Regions from separate parts of the Homo sapiens genome. Here region 1 is linked to region 2. The links are contacts of gene promoters, found by promoter capture Hi-C in blood cells and fetal thymus (Javierre and others, 2016). All regions are on one chromosome and are shown on one strand. Each heading gives the region's core, a stretch centred on a gene start or on the middle of the fragment in contact. The rest is flanking DNA. Distances are from core to core; before and after follow the strand shown. Region 1 holds the start of FERMT3 (FERM domain containing kindlin 3). Region 2 holds the start of MARK2 (microtubule affinity regulating kinase 2).

Evidence for each region. Contacts are between HindIII fragments. The CHiCAGO score rates a contact against its expected background, and 5 or more counts as called.
Region 1: a contact is called between the fragment with the promoter of FERMT3 here and a fragment that was not itself captured in region 2, in 3 of 17 cell types (erythroblasts, total CD8 T cells and fetal thymus). The highest score is 6.0, in erythroblasts.

What each region holds. Positions count from the first base shown.
Region 1 is chr11:64,205,068-64,208,804 of GRCh38, forward strand. FERMT3 (FERM domain containing kindlin 3) reads left to right here and starts at 1,654. Exons shown (of 15, transcript NM_031471.6): 1 at 1,654-1,747; 2 at 2,284-2,457. The coding sequence starts at 2,298. RefSeq lists enhancers at 263-825, 663-922, 826-1,388, 1,823-1,902, 2,223-2,302 and 2 more. The HindIII fragment of the contact is 2,303 bases long and covers 525-2,827 here.
Region 2 is chr11:63,836,848-63,840,761 of GRCh38, forward strand. MARK2 (microtubule affinity regulating kinase 2) reads left to right here and starts at 2,263. Exons shown (of 19, transcript NM_001039469.3): 1 at 2,263-2,713. The coding sequence starts at 2,660. RefSeq lists enhancers at 949-1,937, 2,198-2,347 and a silencer at 2,358-2,597. The HindIII fragment of the contact is 532 bases long and covers 2,093-2,624 here.

The DNA.
Region 1 (3,737 bases), core at 404-2,903, 370 kb after region 2:
CCACACCCAGCTAATTATTATATTTTAGTGGAGACAGGTGTTTCGCCATATTGGCCAGGCTAGTCTCGAACTCCTGACCTCAAGTGATCCACCCGCCTCAACCTCCCAAAGTGCTGGGATTACAGGCATGAGCCACTGCACCCCACTGGGTGATGGGTTTTTTTTGTTTGTATTTTTTGAGATGGTGTCTCTCTCTGTCGCCCAGGCTGGAGTGCAGTGGCGTGATCCAGCTCACTGCAAGCTCTGCCTCCCGGGTTCACGCCATTCTCCTGCCTCAGTCTCCCGAGTAGCTGGGACTACAGGCGCCCGCCACCACGCCCGGCTAATTTTTTGTTTGTTTGTTTGTTTGTATTTTTAGTAGAGACGGGGTTTCACCGTGTTAGCCAGGATGGTCTCAATCTCCTGACCTCGTGATCCACCCGCCTGGACTTCCCAAAGTGCTGGGGTTAACAGGCGTGAGCCACCGCGCCCGGCCTGGGTGATGGTTTTAATGCACGGCTCTTACCTGAGAACTTAGGGTGCTAAGCTTTAATTACACTTTTCCATGGTTGCAACAAGCTGCGTTTTCTAAAGCTCTCTTCCTGGACTGGGGAGGCCTTTGGGGCAGGAGTAAAACTTCCTCATTTGCTCCAAGAGTGCTGCTTTCTGGGCTAGGAAGGCGCTGAGACTAGCAGCTGGCTGGACTTCCTGCTGTTAGTTTCATCAGCTTTCTTTTCCCCTGGGAATCCCCGGCAGGCCGCCCCCTTCCCCATCTGAGTGGCGATGCTCAGGTAGCCTCCCCCATTGGCAGGACTCTGCCGCCCCCAGGCTTGCCCACCCTGCATGCTCCAACCCCAGTGTGTTCACTGGAAAGGCCGCTGTCCTGCGCAGAGCTGGTGGCGGACGTGCCTTGCTCTACTGAAGTCCACATCCTAGGGCAGGTGATGAGCAGGAGGGTATAGACCACCAGAGACCCCTGAGGTGTCACCTAAGCAGGGACTTGATGGGAGTGAGCCTCGTGGGGACTCGGGGAGGCTCATCCAAGTGGAGCACAGTGGAGGGGTCGTGTTTGGAGCTGGGTGACCTGAGGGCCCGGGAGGTTGTGGATGGTCTGGGCCAAGTACTGTTCACTTGTTCACCTGGCAGGTCTGAGTTCATGAGTTTGAAGGTAGCCCTACGCGGAGCTAGGAAAAACTGCAAAATGGACTTGTTTCCCTCTGGGGCCTTGAGGGATCCTTGGTTGATAGGGATAGCCAGGCTGGAGCCGATTTAACCTGTGAGTCCCAAATAACCTGGATACACTCTGTCGACTCCTGGGCTCTCCCTCCGGCAGCCCAGTGATGTTTCAAAGCCCAAGGTCCCCACCTCATGTGACAGGCTGAGGATGGCAGACACTTCCCACAAAAGTGGACCTAGCCCTGAACACACACAGCCGGGGGACTTGTTGAGTTTGCACTGAGCTTCCCTCCAAATGAGGAAGGGGGCGTTTTTATGGTGTTGAGTCGCTAAGCCCCGCTCTCCCTAGCTTCCTGTGCTCTCTGGGGACAAAGGTGGGGGGGCCCCTGGAACCCTCTGTGGGCTGGCAGTGTGCTTCCTGCACCCAGCGCCAGCCCGCCCTGGGGAGGGGCTGAACCCGCCCTGCTCGTGATAAGGCACAAGCAAGGGCTGCCCTGAAGGAAGCTCCAAAGAGAAAGGAGGGCAGGAAGCCCACGGCCCACAGGGGTGTAGCCCGAGACCCACCTGCAGCCCCCAGCCCTTGCCAGGAAAGGTAAGCTCAGGCCTCACTGGGACCCTGGGCCCTTCTCTTCCTTATCCTCCTGCAGCCTCTGCCCAGCCTGCCTCTCGCCATGCGGCAGCCTGAACTTTCCACCTCCCCGGAGAGGCTTTGGCTGGTTTGTGATGTTGGCATCTGAGCTGTGGGCCAGGATCGGAACTACTTCCTGGCCTGGGTACGAAGCCATGGCCAGAGTGGGCAGCTGCCCCTGAGGGTCTGGGAGTGAGCTGTGGGCTGGCATTGAGCACGGTGGTCCTGAGTGAGCCCCTTCTTACCCGGCCTCAGTCTGCCCGCCTGTAGGATGGGAGCGGATTGGACTACATGGTCTCTGAGGGCCCTCGCGGCTCAAGCGCCAGCGCTGGAGAGAGAGTCTGAGGGTACCACGGGCGTGCTGGCCTGGGTGCTCACTCCCGCCCTCCTTCATGAGCGGCTTTCCTCTGGGTGTGTCCAGGGCATCACAGAGCTCTTCTGCCCAAACCCGGAGGCCTACCAGGGCCTGCCCACCTTGCCTCCTTCCACACTCTCTGTAGCAGCAGCCGCAGCCATGGCGGGGATGAAGACAGCCTCCGGGGACTACATCGACTCGTCATGGGAGCTGCGGGTGTTTGTGGGAGAGGAGGACCCAGAGGCCGAGTCGGTCACCCTGCGGGTCACTGGGGAGTCGCACATCGGCGGGGTGCTCCTGAAGATTGTGGAGCAGATCAGTGAGTGTCCGCTGCCCGCTTGCTGAACTCGGCACCATGGGCGGCCGCCACGGGTGTCTCTGGGCACTTCCGGGCCATCCCTGCTGCTCAGCTCCCGATAATGGTGTCACGGTGACTCAGGCATTAGCTTAATCATTTGGTTCCAAAAAAGACATTTCCCCAACTTCCTCTCCCTCCCACCCTCTTCCCTCCCTCCCTTCTGCTGCAGCTGGTCTGCTAAGGATCAGACGCAGCCACAATCCTCCATTCAGCCACCAATAGGGGCAGAAGGAGTGGTCTTGTCTGGGCCGAGGCTGAAGTCACATTGCTGAGGTCTGAGGGGGTCTAGGTGACCCAGGGGCCTGCCCCCACGCTCCCTCCCCTTGGCGGAAGCTTTGAGCAGGTTGGTGACAGGCCCAGCCTGGGTGGGAAGGCCCTGCCCCCACAGGAAGTTACAGCAGAGCAGCTGTGGTATCAGTCATGGAGGACCACGGGGCTAGTGACACGGGGGCTCCTCATCTTCCTTCCCTGCCGGGGGTGGGGGCTACCCCTTCCTGAGAGAGCAGCAGGAAGACCCCGATAGGCAGAGCCGGAAGACAGGCCCACCACAGTCCCGGCCAAGAGCCTGGGCCTGGGCTGCCAGTGGGTGGGGGGTGGGTGATGGTGGGGAGGCTTCCTCAGACCCCGCCAGGCCACCATGTGCAGCACAGGAGGAGGTCAGTCCGACTGTGGAGAGGATAGGGTCCAGAACGGCCCGGCCACAAGACTGAGGCTGTGAGGGGAGCTGCCAGGGGCAGGGCCCGGAGCAGCTGTGAGAATAGAAGTGAGGAACAGAGAGAGGGTGGTGAAGACCTGGGTGGCCCCAGGGCACGGCATGAGGGTAACGCAGGAGGCCTTAACCTGGAGTCAGACAGACCCCGCTGCTCTACCCGCTGCTGGGCACCCCAGGGCAAGTTCCTTTAGCTCTGTGTTCCCTGTGGTGGGGATACTGTCACTCCTAAGCACATCAGCTCTGTCTACTGATGCTCAGCCTGGCCGCCCCGGGCCAGTCCCTGGCCTCCTGGAGCAGCAGCGGGTGAGACTGACCCATGGGGGCTGCGTGCCGGCTGCCGCACAGAGGGCGCTATCATGGGGGCCTGGAGCCAGAGGAGGGGGCTGCCCCGAGCCCAGGATGGGGATAACCCCAGGAGAAGTCCTGAGAGGTGGCCTCAGCAGGGAGGAGCAAGGTGGTGGCGCTGGGACTCGGAGGGCTGTGAATTAGGGCTCTCGGCTGGTGAGGATGCTGGGAGCGTGACCAGAAA
Region 2 (3,914 bases), core at 1,109-3,608:
TGCACTCCAGCCTGGGAGATAGAGCGAGATTCAGTCTTAAAAAAAAAAATTTCAAGATGGTGACAGCAGAGCATTAATCCAAGCTCAGGGTCCACCTGAGCACAGGGCTCTGTGTGACTGCATGGGGTCGTGGGCCCAAGAAGCCAGCCCTGCCTATAACCAGTGAGGGAGCTGGTGATAGCTTTCTAGCAGAGCAGAGATGTTATTGGAGCTGGACTTTGGGAAGATTATTCTGACATGTCTGGTGCAGTAGGTTGGAGGGAGTCTAGGCGGGGAGACAAGCTCAGCAGCCTTGTGCAAAGCTAGCAAGGAAGAGAAAGGATAGGTAGGGTAGGGGTTGGGGATGAAGGTCAAAGGGCAGGGGTGAGGCAGGGGTTAGAGCTAGAGTGAGAAGCTTGGAGAAGATGGAGTCTATTTAGACGAGAGTGTGGACCAGGGAGAGACTGCTGGAACACCAACCACCAACTGCTTCCTCTCTCTTTTCCCTGCTTTCCAGACCCTGGCATTAGAGGTGATACCAGGCACAGGAATCAGCAACGTGTCTCCCTTTGGCCACCAGAGGGCAGATGATTCTCAAGGATCGAATTTGGGTTGGGGAGTGAGGTGTTCTCTGTCCTCCTCTTCTCTCTTTCCCTCACCTTCATGGGTGTGCCTTCACCTTCTTCCTCAACGGTTGGGTGCCTGAATAGAGCTGGTATGGGGCATGGGGAGCAGTGCTGAAGTCCCAGGATTTACTAAGAGTGTAGTGATACCTGTTGCCTTAGGAAGTACTTTCATACCCTGGTAATTACATCTGCTCAGATGCCTATTTCTCTGATTGATGGGATGAAGGCTGGCTCAAGATGCTGTAGCTGGGAGTTGGAGGTCAAGTAGCAGGGGTCCAATCAGCAGTTTTCCCAATAACTCCTGGAGCCTCTCTGCTCCTGTACCTTTGGGAACCTGTTGCCTGAGTCTGGTTTCTGACTCCTGCGGGGCCTCTGCCTCCTGCCCACCTTAAGCCACTGATGGGAGGGTGTGGTTCCAACGTGTTCCAGGTACTATGGGTGAGGACAGCTTGGCGCTGGGGAAATCAGCCCAGGATACTCCCTGTCCTTGGTAACGCAGTGTAAGGGGAAGTGAGGAATGGACTGCAGTTGCCATACAGACTTCCTGTTAGTCAAGGGCTCTCCAAAGCTGAGAAGGACCTCCGAGTTCATGAATCCAATGGCTTCACTTTACTGATGGGGAAAATGAGGCCCAGAGGAGGAAAGAAAAGAAACTTTAAATGCCTTATCTTGCAGAGGCATTTTAAAAGGTAACTGGAATTCAGAAATGTCATTTTGAATGTCAACGCAGGAGCAAAGGCAAAGGAAAGAGGAGCCTAAACTCAGTGATGTTATGTGATTTTTCCAAGATCACGCAGCATTGGCACTTGGCAGAGCTGGGGCTGAAATGCAGGGCCCTGGACGCTCCCGCATCCGGTGCAGAGGACGCTGCCCTGGGCCTGCCTGGGGCCTTGCCGAGCCCTGCGGACTAGATGCGGGAATGCACGGATGAATCCACAGAAGCCAAGATAGACGGTGGCAGACAGGCAATAGACTGATGCTGCATTTGACAGGTATATTGATAGGCTAGATGATAAAAAGAAGATGAATTTTATGAGCTGACCGACAGATGGACAGAAATGCAGACAGGAAGCTGCTATAGAACCAGAGGATGCCAATCACAGGGACGGCTAACAATCTTGTTTTGTATTTAGTCAAATCACAAGCACAGACAGGTGACCCACGCTTCCTGTTCAAGGTTTGAAAATGCCCGAAAACTGACGGAAAGACACGAAGCGAATCAGACTCCGAGAGCCACCCGGGGAAACGACCGGGTGCTCGGAGGGCCTCGGGTGTTGCCGGAAATGGCCGACGACCGCCCTCGGCAGGGCTGTGGGAGGGGGCGTGGCCGGCTCAGCACGCGGAGCAGCTTCGGGTATTTCCGGAAACTGCCGAAAGCCCCCTTGAAGTGGGCGGGGAAAGGCCGGTGGGCGTGGCTGGATGGCCGTGGACGGGGGCGGGGGGTAGGCACCCGGGGTCGCTTCGTGGATTTCCGTAAACAGAGCCGAAGCTTCGTCTTCGGAATCGAGGAGGAGAGCGCGTCCCCGGGGTTTACCTTCTTCGGCTGTTTCCGGAATTCACCCGTAGTCTGTGGCCGGGAGGAGAAGGCGCGCCCCACCTCCCGTTTCTAGCCGCTTCGGATGTTTCCGGCTGCTGCCGGCGAAAAGAGCCGAGGGCCGGCGGTGGTGGCGGCCATGTTGGGAGCAGCAGGTCCGGCGGCGGCTGCCTGTGTGCCGGGCGCGGAGCAGTGCCGCTGAGGGCAGGGGAGGAGCGAGGCAGGCGGCCGGCTGCGGCGGCAGAGAGTAGGCGGAGCGGCGCGGCCCGGCCGAAAGGCGGCACAGCCCAGCCGGGGGTCGGGGGGGTGCGGTCCGGAGCCGCTCGGAGCCGGCGCGGCCTAGCCCGAGCGGCGCATCCCCGGGCTGGCGTGAGCGGCTGCCCGGCCTCCCCGCACCCCCGGCCGGGGCCCATGCGGCGGGTGCTCCTGCTGTGAGAAGCCCCGCCCGGCCGGGCTCCGCGCCTTCCCTTCCCTCCCTTCCTCCAAGCTTCTCGGTTCCCTCCCCCGAGATACCGGCGCCATGTCCAGCGCTCGGACCCCCCTACCCACGCTGAACGAGAGGGACACGGAGCAGGTAAGGAGCCCCGAGGGCTCCCCGAATTCTCTGGCTGGGCCCTTTGCACCTTGCGGAGCCTCCTCCCTCTTCTGCTCTCCTCGTGCCCCTGCTGCCATCCTGCAAGCCTCGGCTGCCCTGTCATCCGGCTCCTGGCTCCGGCTCCGCACATCCCGCTTCCGAGTCCTGACCTGGGACCCACCTCGTCCTGACTCCAAGCTGCACACTTGTCTTTCTGCCAACCCCCGTCTCCCCTCACCGCCCTCCTGCGCTCTTCCGTGTCACCTCCCCAGCTTCCCTTTCTCTTCCCTTTTTCTCTCAGGGGCCTTTCTGGTCTTCCTCCACCCACGCTTAAAGCAGCCACCCTCCCGCTCCTCGAATAGCAGCACCCCGCGATTTGCCACAGATCGTTGTCCACCTCTCCCTTCGTCTCTCCTGCCTCGCTTCCCCTCCGCCCGCACCGGTTCTGCCAGTCTCTGGGTTATCACCCTCAGGGTCCTTGCCCTGGACTGCGCTCTCGATCCCTGGCCCCTTGCAGTTCCCCCAGCTTTTTCTACCCTGCTTCTTCGTTTTCCAAATTGTGCTCTCCCTCTTGCTTGCAACCCACCAGCTCCACCCTCATCACCTTTCCAAATCCTTCGCCTACTCTTTGCTCATCACTTTCCCTTCTTTGCTCCAGGAGCTCCCTGGATCCTGGCGCTGGCATTTGTCGCTTCCGTGTTTCCCCACAGCTGTCATGCGCATAGTTTTCCCACAGGTTGCGTTTGGGGTTCCAATCATCACTCCCTTCAGAGTCTTTGGATCCCTCTTGTTCTCTTCCCCTCGGGTTTGGCTTTTAGGTCCCTGGGCCTCTTGTTTCTCTCTGTGAGTGTTCTACCAGCCTTCTACTGGGCTCTTTCTCCCAACCCAAAGACACTTGGCCCCACCGTATTAACACAACCTGTTGCTCAGTCCTTTCCCAGACCTCGCTGCATCACAGTTTTTGCCTTTCTGTCTTCGTACGCTGGAACACAAACCATGATGACTTTCTGTGTCTTCACTCCCGTGCCTGGCACTTAGAGTATTTTCTTTCTTGCTTGTTGCCTTCCTGTTTCTCCACCCTCACCCCATCTTCCTTACTGTGCCTTTTAATCAGCGTTGCCTTTCATCTCCGCATTAGTCTCCTGCCTTCTTCATGTCCTGTGTATCCCCACACCGTGCTTGGATCCATTCTGTTCCTATT